Linked DNA regions of Homo sapiens: regions 1 and 2 are each linked to region 3. Evidence: promoter capture Hi-C in 16 types of primary human blood cells and fetal thymus (Javierre and others, 2016). All regions are on one chromosome and are shown on one strand. The core of a region is centred on a gene start or on the middle of the fragment in contact, and the rest is flanking DNA. Distances in the headings are between cores, read along the strand shown. Region 1 holds the start of PIK3R2 (phosphoinositide-3-kinase regulatory subunit 2). Region 2 has its middle 9.1 kb from the start of MPV17L2. Region 3 holds the start of IQCN (IQ motif containing N).

The links. The method cuts DNA at HindIII sites, captures the fragments that hold promoters and counts their contacts. A CHiCAGO score of 5 or more calls a contact.
Region 1: a contact is called between the fragment with the promoter of PIK3R2 here and the fragment with the promoter of IQCN in region 3, in 3 of 17 cell types (neutrophils, naive B cells and total B cells). The highest score is 8.9, in neutrophils.
Region 2: a fragment that was not itself captured here is called in contact with the fragment with the promoter of IQCN in region 3 in 9 of 17 cell types (naive B cells, erythroblasts, total B cells and 6 more); the score reaches 7.3 in naive B cells.

Annotation. Positions count from the first base shown.
Region 1 is chr19:18,150,532-18,154,582 of GRCh38, reverse strand. PIK3R2 (phosphoinositide-3-kinase regulatory subunit 2) reads right to left here and starts at 1,420. Exons shown (of 16, transcript NM_005027.4): 1 at 1,289-1,420. It overlaps MAST3 (microtubule associated serine/threonine kinase 3), which reads right to left. Exons shown (of 28, transcript NM_001393504.1): 28 at 2,896-4,051. RefSeq lists silencers at 550-769, 1,080-1,459 and enhancers at 1,570-1,849, 1,155-2,047, 2,590-2,669. The HindIII fragment of the contact is 8,629 bases long and covers 1-2,675 here.
Region 2 is chr19:18,182,098-18,186,134 of GRCh38, reverse strand. No RefSeq gene overlaps it. Among named protein-coding and RNA genes, the nearest start is that of MPV17L2, 9.1 kb to the left of the region's middle. The HindIII fragment of the contact is 2,344 bases long and covers 1,616-3,959 here.
Region 3 is chr19:18,271,787-18,275,815 of GRCh38, reverse strand. It overlaps IQCN (IQ motif containing N), which reads left to right and starts at 1,364. Exons shown (of 4, transcript NM_001145304.2): 1 at 1,364-1,413. RefSeq lists enhancers at 740-859, 643-937. The HindIII fragment of the contact is 14,383 bases long and covers 1-4,029 here.

The DNA of each region.
Region 1 (4,051 bases), core at 171-2,670, 120 kb after region 3:
AGCTCCATAGAGGGGTCAGGCCAGCTGAACTAAGAGGTAGGGAACAAAGTCCAGGAAGAGGCCTCTACACAAGCAAAGGCCTCGAGGTGAGTCCAAGCAAATGGACCTCCAGTCTCTGCAGAGGAGGAGTGAGTGGGCTGGCAGGTAGCTCCAGCCTGGGGCCCAGAGTAGGCACAAAATGCAGATGGGGAGGTGCTTAGAAGGAACCTTAGCCCCAGGCAGGGACAGGGAGCCAGGAGAAGGTGGGGGTACTGCAGCTGAGGAGGAGGGGAGGCTGCCGGCAGCAGGGCATTGATTATTCCCCAGGAGTCCCAGCCTGGGGAGGCGGAGATAGGCACACATTCCCAGCCTAGCCCTGCGGGTTCAGACGCCCTGTGATGGACAGGGCTAGGGTCGGGGGATGGACGTGCTGTTCTAGAGAATGGATCATCACAGCGGATAGGAAGGCGCGACAGGCAGACGGAACGGCACATGCAAAGCCTTGGCAGTGGGTTAAGTTGCTTGTCAAGGATTCAGGGTGGCTATAAGGATAGGTGCTATCCACCAAGAGGCCCGAGTGTCAGGTGGAGGCTCTGAGCATCCTTCAGTCACGGGGAACCCCAAGAGGTGTCCGAGCAGGGCGGAGGGGCGCCACATTCTCGGGTGCCCAATTTACCCATTCCTAGGCCTCTGTTACCCTCATTCTACAGGTGGGGAAACTGAGGCCCCGAGAGGGGATGCCCAGAAAACCGCCTGGATCTGCCTGCCAGCCCGCCCCCACGCCCCGGTGTGCGCGCCCCGGGAGCAGCGCTCCCCGAATCCGGGAGGCGGGAGGGGCGGGGCAGGCAGGGCTGGGGGCTCCGCGGGTGAAGGCAGGGCCTGAGCGCTCACACAGACGCGCACTTGGGTCTGCGTGGACCCGGCCACCCGGCTAGGGGACCGGAAGTGGGTTCGACCCCCGGCCCTCCCGCACCCCATTCTGCCCCGCACAATGCCTGGGCGCCCCTCGGTACTATTCGAAGCCCCATTCCAGGCAGGGCCTCCCTTCATTTGGGGCCTCGGCTCCAGTCCGGTATCTTGGACGCGGGGAGTCTCTCCCCATTCTGCCCCGACCGTCCCAAGGAGGCTGCACCGCTGCGGAGCCGAGCCCGAGGCCCCCCCTTGCCTGCGGCCCCCCCAGTTCCCGCGGGGCCCGACGCAGCCTGGCGCTTGCGTTCTGGCTTCCACCGGGGCCCGGCACTGCCCCCGGGCGCCCCGCATTTAAGCACACTCCCAGCCGCCCCCGCCACGAGGGCCAGTCAGGACTCACCTGGTCGCGGCCGCCACCGCCGCCGCAGCCGCCGTCACACCAAGCCAAGCCCGCCCCGTGGCTCCACCGCGGCCACCGTCGCCGCAGCCGCGGGATCCCCGCCTCCGCCGCCGCCACGGTTCCGAGCGGCCTGGCCCGCCCCCGGCGGAAATGCCCGAGCGCATTCGAGCCGGGCGGATGAACCGAGGCCGAGGCGGAGCCTGAGGTAAGGGGGCACCCGAGTGTTTCCGGAAGTAGCCGAACGTAATCCCGCGGGACTGGTGGACTAGAGGGTGCCCCCGAGACAGCCGAGCGTTTCCAGAGGTAGCCGAGTGCAATCGGGTCGGCGAGGGATCCGAGACTGGGCTCGGCTGGGCTTAGAGACGCCCGAGCGCTTTCGGAAATGGCCGAACACTCTCTACGGCCGCACTGGCACAACTGAGGCTGATCCCCAAGACCGCGGAGCGTTTCTGGAAATAACCGAATGTGCTCAGTGCCCAATGGAGGCCTTGGGAGTTTAGACCCAGAGGCGACCGCCAGCTTATGGGAATTACTGAAGCATAGATGGTTCCAGGGGACAAATGAGGCGTTCTCAAGCTCAGCAAACAGGGGGCAGTAGAGTGGGGAAAGGGCCTGCCGCAAAAAGCAGAAGTCGGAGAAAGCCAGGGTTGAAGGAGTTTCCATGGCAACCCAGAGCGTCCGGAAACAGCCAACGATCTCGACCCCTACGGGCACTAGAATTTAGCGGACTTGAGCCTAGATGCCGACGGTTTCCGGAAATAGCCGAACGCACTCGGAGATGGGGCTGTAGCCAAGAGTGTTTGCATGCCGGCTGAGCGCCCCGGAAGTAACGGATTGCTCTAGGGCTGGGCCGGGTTCGGCTAGAGGGAGTTTTATGGCAGAGCGCAAGCTAAGACCAGGATAGAAAGGACGCGACGATTGCTTATTTTGTTATTATTTTTTGAGACGGAGTTTCGCTCTTGTTGCCCAGGCTGGAGTGCAATGGCGCTATCTCGGCTCGCCGCAACCTCCACCTCCCGAGTTCAAGCGATTCTCCTGCCTCAGCCTCCCGAGCAGCTGGGATTACAGGCATGCGCCACCACGCCCGGCTAATTTTGTATTTTTAGTAGAGACGGGGTTTCTCCATGTTGGTCAGGGTGGTTTGGAACTCCCGACCTCAGGAGATCCGCCCGCCTTGGCCTTCCAAAGTGCTGGGATTACAGGCGTGAGCCACCGCGCCCCGCCGCTTATTTATTTTATTAACATAGCCCAGGGCGCCCAGGAGGTCGAGGCTGCAATGTGCCGTGATTGCGCCACTGTACTCCAACCTGGGTTACAGAGCGAGACCTTGTCTCAAAAACATAAAAATAAAAAACATAGCTCAGGGCCCAGATGTCTGGAGGAAGCTTTTAAAGGCAGGGCTATGATGGAGTACTCGCAGGGAGAGGGTAGCAGGAGGCTGGTACCAGCGATGGCATCAGGAAGAATCTCAACAGCGAACTGCTATGCAGTCCTCAAAACCCACTTGCAATGACTTTGAGCCATGGGTCTATTTCACTCCGCTCCCCTCCCCACTCTTCCCTTCCTCCTTTCTCAGCCCCTCACAAATCCAGACGTTGGAGCTCATCTTTGTAAATACGGGCTTTTATTCACTGCCAGCTCCAGGATGGAAGGAGGGGGTGAATCATGCACAGCCTTGGTCTACCCTCCAACACTAGGCAGTGCTGGACAGGGGACTCAGAAAGGGAAGCAGAGTGGGCTGTTGATGTCTGGAAAGCTCCCTCACCAGAGTGCCCAGTGGGTCACACAGCATCATGGGGGATGAGCTGGGGCTGGAGTCGGCTGTATCTGACACCAGACCCTCCATTCAAGCTCCCTTGATGACAACGCCCACAACAGGGTCTGGCTGATGCTCCGTTCTGCCACGACTCCTGCTGGGTGATCGTGGGACAGGTCTCCGCCCCTCGCTGGGGTCTCAGCTGCTTTGTCTGTAAAATGGAGGTGATGACACCACCTCCAGCCTTCTCAAGGCTGGCTGAGGGAGAAGCCACGTAAAAGCGCTTGGCACACAGTAGGTGCTTAATAAACAGTCAATGGGATTAGTCTTGTAAACACAAGGAAACTGAGGCACAGAGTGGGAAAGCCATTTTCCCAGAGCCACACAGTGAAGCTGAAATTCAAACTTGAGCCTCGACTGGGTTTTCTGGCTTGAACTTCATCCCAGAGAGGCTCTGACATATGGAGGGAACCCCTAACAGGTGTTTCAGACACATCACGGCCAAGGGCTTACTCTGCTGGGCCTCAAACACACGGCATCTTGTCCAGGGTAGACTGGACAAGGCCAGGCCAAGGCAGAGCCTGAGGGGAGGGGACACTGAGTGTTTCTGGAAGTAGCTGGACGTAATCCCGCAGGACTGGCATACTGGAGCGTGCCCCGAGACAGCCGAGCATTTCTGGAGGCTGCCTTGGCAGTTCCAGGTGAGGCCTGTACCTTCCTTTATCAGTGCCCACCTGGGGAGCGGATGACCCCTCTGCCCAGATCCGGTGAACACCTATTCATCCATCAAAGCTCCAGCTCCCATATCCCTTCTCCAGGCTGAAGCCAGCAGGATTGGAGGCAGACTCTATATATAGAGCAGGCACTGCCTGGGCATGGCAGCTATGATGGTGGGAAGTGGCCTTCAGAATCCAGTCCATCGCTGGGATTACATTGTTTTGTGGGTGAGAGGAATTGTTTACGGACACTCCAGGTTGTAGCCGAACTGGGCCGGTACAGGTGACCAG
Region 2 (4,037 bases), core at 1,538-4,037, 91 kb after region 3:
TGAACTCCTGACCTCAGGTGATCCCCCAGCCTCTGCCTCACAAAGTACTGGGATTACAGGCATGAGCTACCGTGCCCGGCCAAAATTTTTAAAAAATTAGCCAGGTGTGGTGGTGTGCAACTCTAGTCCCAACTACTTGGGAGGCTGAGACAGGAGGATTGCTTGGGCCTGAGAGGTCAAGGCTTCAGTGAGCTGTGATCCCGCTACTGCACTCCAGTCTGGATGACACAGCAAGACCCTGTCTCAAAACAAACACTTAGGTCTAGTTACTTTTTTCGGTCTCCATTTTTCTCGTGAGGGCTCCCATCTACAATGAATAAGCTTTGTGTGCTATTGTTTTGTTAATCTGTCTGTCAGTCTGAGCCAGACACCAGAGAGAGGAGGAAAGCTCTAGCCCTGCTAGTTTCTGGTGATGAGGATGGGCTACAATTGGCTGGGAATATCTGCTCCCTCTGGGGTCTGCAGGGGAGAAATGCTGGGACCTGACAAGCCAATGCAAAGTAAGAATTCAGCCGGACGCGGTGGCTCATGCCTGTAATCCCAGCTTTTTGAGAGGCTGAGGTGGGTGGATTACTTGAGGTCAGGAGATCAAGACCAGTCTGGCCAACACGGTGAAACCCCATCTCTACCAAAAAATAGCAAAATTAGCTGAGTGTGGTGGTGTGTGCCTGTAGTCCCAGTTACTCGGGAGTCTGAGGCAGGAGAATCACTGAAACCTGGGAAGCTGGGGTTTCAGTGAGCTGAGATAGCACCACTGAATTCCAGCCTGGGCAACAGAGTGAGACTTTGTCTCAGAAAAAAAAAAAAAAAAAAAAAAAGGCTGGCACGGTGACTCACACCAGTAATCCCAGCACTTTGGGAGGCCGAGGTGGGTGGATCACCTGAGGTCAGGAGTTCAAGACCAGCCTGGCCAACATGGTGAAACCCCGTCTCTACTAAAAATACAAAAAAATTATCCAGGCGTAGTGGCAGGCACCTGTAATCCCAGCTAATCGGGAGGCTGAGGCAGAAGAACCGCTTGAACCCGGGAAATGGAGGTTGCAGTGAGCCGAGAAAGTACCACTGCACTCCAGCCTGGGCAACAGAGCCAGACTCCGTCTCAAAAAAAAAAAAGAAAAGGACGAATTCTTATCAGGCTGGGATTATGGCTCACACCTGTGATCCCAGCACTTTGGGAGGCTGAAGCAGGAGGATCACTTGAGCTCAGGAGTTTGAGACCAGCCTGGGGAACATAGCAAGACCCCATCTCCACAAAAATTTAAAAAATTAGCTCGGATAGGTGGTGCATGCCTGTAGTCCCAGCTACTCAGAAGTTTGAGGCAAAGGGGATTCTAGAGCCCAGGATTTGGAGACTGCAGTGAGCTGTGATCACATCACTGCATTCCAGGCTGGGCAACAGAGCAAGACTCTTTCAGGGAAAAAAAAAAAGGTGCTGTATAACACCACCAGGTCACCCTTGGATACTTTCCTAGAAGAAGCCAAGAGCCCTCCTGGGCTAAGCCCAAAATTTGGGGCTCCCCTGCAATGGATCAGAACTGTGTTCTCAGAGGGCAATTTGGAAACCAACTGGCAAGTGAAAAATTTTAACAGTCTTTACAAATGTTAGCACAAAGCTTTCATGATCTGAGTAGGTAATCTTAACTCATTTCATCTGCCTCTGCAGATGCAAATTGGATCTCACTTATTTATTTATTTATATTTTTTGAGATTGAGTCTGGCTCTGTCACCCAGACTGGAGTGCAGAGGCACGATCTCAGCTCACTGCAACCTCTGTCTCCTGGGTTCAAGTGATTCTCCTGCCTCAGCCTCCCGAGTAGCTGGGACTACAGGCATGTGCCACCACACCTGGCCAATTTTGTATTTTTGGTAGCGACAGGGTTTCTCCATGTTGGTCAGGCTGGTCTTGAACTCCCAACCTGAGGTGATCAGCCCACTTCGGCCTCCCAAAGTACTGGGATTATGGGCGTGAGTCACTGCGCCTGGCTAATTTTTGTATTTTTAGTAGAGATGGGGCTTCTCCATGTTGCCCAGGCTGGTCTTGAACTCCCTGGCCTCAAATGATCTGCCTGCCTCGGCCTCTCAAAGTGCTAGGATTACAGGCGTGAGCCACTGTGCCCGGCTCCACCATTTTTTTAAAAACTAGTGAGTTTTGTATTATCACACCTGTCTCACAGCTATAATTTTAAAATGAAAGCTATAAGATTTCTGACTGCACCTATTTATGTTTATATATATATATGTTATAGGTATGTAACACTTTCTCCCTCTTGATGGAATTCCTAAAGATTAACTTGTAAAGGAGCTCTATTTCATTGACTTTAGAAAACCACATTTGCTTATGTAAATTAAGACTAGTCAAACAGGCTTATGTTATCTTTAGATGTTGAAGATTATAAAAGTGTAAACTGTAAAACTATAAAATAAACCTAAGAACAATACATGCAATAAAAGTGAATTGCTTGGCCAGGTGGTGGCTCAGATCTGTCATCCATCCCAGCACTTTGGGAGGCTGATGGAGGTAGGTCATTTGAAGCCAGGAGTTCAAGAACAGCCTGGGCAACATGGCAAAACCCCATCTCTGCAAAAAAAAAAAAAAAAAATACAAAAATTTACCACGCATGCTGGCTCGTGGCTCGCACCTGTTGTCCCAGCTATTCGGGAGGCTGAGCAGGGAGGATCGCCTGAGCCCTGGAAATGGAGGTTGCAGTGAGCTGTGATCACATTACTGCACTCCAGCCTGGGTGACAGAACAAGACCCTGTCTCAAAAAATAAATAAAAAAATTTTTACGAAGTGAATTGAGGGTGGGCACGGTGGCTCATGCCTGCAATCCCAGCACTCTGGGAGGCCAAGGCAGGCGGATTGCTTGAGTCCAGGAGTTTGAGACCAGCCTGGGTAACATAGTGAAAAGCTGTCTCTACTAAAAATATAGAAAATTAGCTGAGTGTTGTGGCTTGTGCCTGTAGTTCCAGACACTCGGGAGGCTGGGGTGGGAGGATCGCTTGAGCCCTGGAGGCAGAGGTTGCAGTGAGCTGTGATGTCACCTCACTGCACTCCAGTCTGGGTGACAGAGTGAGACCCTGTCTGAAAAAAAAAAAAAAAAAGGTGATTTGCTTAATGGATGTCAAGCCTGACAATAAAATTAATTTTAAAAAGTAAAGGAGAGACCCATATGTGGGTTTTTAATTTTTTTTGGTTCCTTGGATGGTTATTTTTTGAGATAAGGTCTTGCTCTGTCGCCCAGGCTGGAGTGCAGTGGCATGATCTCAGCTCACTGCAGCCTCCCAGGTTCAAGTGATTCTCATGCCTCAGCCTCCCGAGTAGCTAGGATTACAGGTGTGAGCCACCAGGCCTGGCTATTTTTTTTTTTTTTTGAGATTGAGTTTTGCTCTTGTTGCCCAGGCTCAAGTGCAATGGTGTGATTTCGGCTAACCGCAACCTCTGCCTCCCAGGTTCAAGCGATTCTGCTGCCTCAGCCTCCCGAGTAGCTGGGATTAGAGCTACCACCACCACACCCAGCTAATGTATTTTTAATGGAGATGGGGTTTCTCCATGTTGGTCAGGCTGGTCTTGAACTCCCGACCTCAGGTGATCTGCCCGCCTCAGCCTCCCAAAGTGCTGGGATTACAGGCACGAGCCACCACGCCTGGCCAATTTTTGTATTTTTTATAGAGATGGGATCTCACTGTGTTGGCCAGGCTGGTCTTGAACTCCTGGTCTCCAGTGATCCTCCCACCGTGGCCTCCCAAAGTGCTGGGATTACAGGTGTGAGCCATGGTGCTGCGTCCCATATATTTATTTTTTTAGGTTCTTTGCTTCTTTGATTTTTGATACTTGATTTGTCAACAAGAAAAGTAACTTAAGATGATGATTATTTTTTCAATGTTTTATGAAATGTTCATGAGTAATTAAGCATAATTGTTGAACACAAGTAAGTTAAATGAAAGTGAGATGAAAGCTTGTAAATAAGCTTTTCAACAATAATTATGTTTTATAGTATGCCTGCTTAAATATTGTTTTCAAAATCTGTTTGTAAAT
Region 3 (4,029 bases), core at 115-2,614:
CCTGGCCTCAGGGTCTTTGCACGGCTGCAGCTGTAGTTCTGTGCCAGCTACTCTTCCCCCAGTCATGCAGCTGAGCGCCACCTCCCAGCCTCAGCTGCACAGTCCTCGGAAGCCTGTCCCTAGTAACCCTCAGGCTAGGCCAGCACCTTACTGGGCTCCTACGGTCTCCAATTGCCCTGAGAACTCCCAGTTTGTGTTTAGCTCGTTGACAGCACAGAAGGGACCTGTTCTGATGAAACATCCAAAGGATGAGCTGGGTGCAGTGGCTCATGCCTGTAATCCCAGCACTTTGGGAGGCCGCAGCAGGCGGATCACTTGTGGTCAGGAGTTTGAGACCAGCCTGGCCAACATGGTGAAATCCTATCTCTACTAAAACTACATAAATCAGCTGGGCGTCATAGCATGCACCTGTAGTCCCAGCTACTCAGGAGGCTGAGGCACGAGAATCGCTTGAACCCGGGGAGGTGGAGGTTGCAGTGAGCTGAGATCGTAGCACTGCACTCCAGCCTGGGCAACAGAGCGAGACTCAATCTCAAAAAACAGACAAAGGATATAAACCCCACCCAACTGCCATCTGCCATGTCCCTGATTTTGTCCAAAGTCACACCCACAGTATAGGGAAGGTTTTGGAGGGGGTGATCGCTGCAGAGGGAGGTCAGGCACCCCTGCTGGTTCTTGTCCCGGCAACCCCCAGCGGCTCCCCAAGGAAGCCAGGCAGAGGCTTCTGGGCCAGGCTGGCTTTGGCTGGAGCCAGCTGCACTGAGTCCAAGGTGCGTGTCAGCCTTGGCCCAGCCAGCGGTGACTCATGCTGGGCCCCAGCCCAGCCCCAGGAGGTGATCCAGGACAGCAGCCTGACTTCCCCTTATAGCGCTGCGGCTCAGGGTCAGTACCCACTTTTGCCGGGCCCAGTGGGGATCCCAAGAGATCAAGTCCGGCCCCACCCCAAGGAGCCCGCAGTCTCAGAGCCACACCCAAGACATCAGTGAGAACCCTGACTGGCCCGTTGCACCCCCTTTTTGGTCCCTTCCCATCTAGCCATTTTACAGCCTCAAATTCTTTGAGTTGTTTGTATCCCCAGACATGGGGCAAATTCCAGCATATAGTAGGTGCTCAGAAAATGCCCGTGGGATGAAAGACTGAAACTGCCTCTAGGTACATGGAGGGGGAGATTTGGGGTTCCCTCTGTGCTGAGAACCCTTTGTACTCAGGATGAGCCGGTGTAGGTAGCAACCACCATGACCTTTGGCCCTGCCCTGCATCCTGTTCCCCAACCTCTGGCTGTGCCTTCTAGAATCCCCACCCCCTAAGAGCTGCCAGGGATTGGCCAGAACTTGGCTTTGAGTCACAAAGCTGCTGCGGCACCAGGGCTCCAAGACTGGCCGTTCAGACTGCTAGGTTTAGCTTCAGGGGCAGGTGAGTGGGGCTGGTGGCTTTGGGGGCGGGTGAGTGGGGCTGGTGGCTTCAGGGGCGGGTGAGTGGGGCTGGTGGAGGACTTGTTTGCGAGGGTTCGTGGGGGACCCTGTCGTTCTCCTCTGGCCCCCAGTGCCTTTAGAGCCCTTCTGGGCCTTCTGGGTGACTGCAAATGATGGGTCAGCTCCTTGGCCCCTCACAGCAGGGGCTCTAGGGACCTCTAAAGCCTTGATGGTGGATTTGTTCACCTGTGATGGGGGACATCATGGAGAGCCTGTTATGTCTCTTTATTATTATTTTTTTAAATAAATAGAGACATGTTGCCCAGGCTGTTTTCAAACTCTTGGGCTGCAGCGATCCTCCCACCTTGGTCCCCCAAAGTGCTTGGATTACGGGCAGGAGCCACTGCGCCCAGCTGAGCCTGTTGTGTCTCTTTGGCAACCTGAGGATGGTGATCTTATGTCTTGTGACAGATAGGGAAATTGAGGCTCAGAGGGGTTTACTCAAAATTACCGAGCCAGTCGCTTGGCTTCTGTGTCCAGGGGGCCCCTGTTCCTTCTTCTCATCCCCCACAATCCCGTTTCTCACCCCTTCTGGTTGAGTTCCTCTAAAGAGCTGCACCGTTTGGTTGATGAAACCTCAGCCCCTGGAATGGGCCCATTCAGCTCCCAGAGCTGCTGTCTCCCGGGTTCAAGTGATTTTCCTGCCTCAGGAGTTCGAGACCAGCCTGACCCATATGGTCAAACCCCATCTCTACTAAAAATTCAAAAATTAGGCCGGGCAAGGTGGCTCACGCCTGTAACGCCAGCACTTTGGGAAGCCAAGGCGGGCAGATCACCTGTGATCAGGAGTTCAAGACCAGCCTGACCAACATGGAGAAACCCCATTTCCACTAAAAATACGAAATTAGGTGTGGTGGCGCATGCCTGTAATCCTAGCTATTTGGGAGGCTGAGGCAGGAGAATCGCTTGAACCTGGAGGCAGAGGTTGCAGTGAGCCAAGATGGCGCCATTGCACTCCAGCCTGGGCAACAAAAGTGAAATTCCGTCTCAAAGAGAATAATAATAATAATTAGGCCGGGCATGGTGACTCATGCCTGTAATCCCAGCACTTTGGGAGGCCGAGGCGGGCGGATCACTTGAGGTCAGGGGTTCGAGACCAGTCTGGCCAACATGGCGAAACCCCAACTCTACTAAAAATACAAAAGTTAGCCAAGTGTGGTGGCAAGTGCCTGTAATCCCAGCTACTCGGGAGGCTGAGACAGGAGAATCACTTTGAACCTGGGAGGCGGAGGTTGCAGTGAGCCAAGATCGTGCCACTGCACTTCAGCCTGGGCAACAGAGCAAGATTCCGTCCATCTCAAAAAAATAAAAATAATAAATATATGTGTGTCAATTATCCATGCATTGCCTCTTGTCTCCGAATGGACCCTTTCAATATGTGATAAACAAAGGAATTTCTTTCGTTATGTCTTGTTTAAAGTGAGCACAATGCTCGGCCAGGCGCGGTGGCTCACGCCTGTAATCCCAGCACTTTGGGAGGCCGAGGTGGGCGAATCACGAGGTCAGGAGATGGAGACCATCCTGGCTAGCATAGTGAAACCCCGTCTCTACTAAAAATACAAAATATTAACTGGGCGTGGTGGCAGGCGCCTGTAGTCCCAGCTACTCAGGAGGCTGAGGCAGGAGAATGGCGTGAACCCGGGAGGCAGAGCTTGCAGTGAGCCGAGATGGTGCCAGTGCACTCCAGCCTGGGAGACAGAACGAGACTCCGTCTCAAAAAAAAAAAAAAAGTGAGCACAATGCTAAGATTTCTCAATAGAGGGCGCTGGTGAGGCATTAGGGATAGAGGTGTGAAGACACCAGGTGAAGCCTGCCCGAGCCCTGGATCCAGAACGTGGTCCTGTGACTTTGCAGTCTTGACCTGGTGAAAACCTTTCTGCAGCCCTCTCAACACACACAAAAAACAGAGCCCCTAAGGCCGGGCGCGGTGGCTCATGCCTGTAATCCCAGCACTTTGGGAGGCCAAGGTGGGTGGATCACCTGTGGTCAGGAATTTGAGACCAGCCTGACCAATATGATGAAACCCCATCTGTACTAAAAATACAAAAATTTGCTAGGCGTGGTGGCAGGTGCCTGTAATCCCAGCTGCTCAGGAGGCTGAGGTAGGAGAATCGCTGGAAACCGAGAGGTAGAGGTTGCAGTGAAAGGAGATCGCGCCACTGCACTCCAGCCTGGGCGACAAGAACAAAACTCAAAAGAGAGAGAGAAAAAAAAAAAGGCCAGGCGCGGTGGCTCACGCCTGTAATCCCAGCACTTTGGGAGGCCGAGGCAGGCGAATCACCTGAGATCAGGAGTTTGAGACCAGCCTGGCCAACATGGTGAAACCCCGTCCCTCCAAAAACAAAACAAAACAAAACAAACAAAATTAGCTGGGTGTGGTGGGATTCATGCCTGTAATCCCAGCTACTCGGGAGGCTGAGGCAGGAGAATCGCTTGAACCCAGGAGGCGGAGGTTGCAGTGAGCCAAGATGCTGAGTGCCGCTGCACTCCAGCCTGGGGGACAGAGTGAGACTCTGTCTCAAAAATCATAAATAAATAAATGATAATAAACGAACAG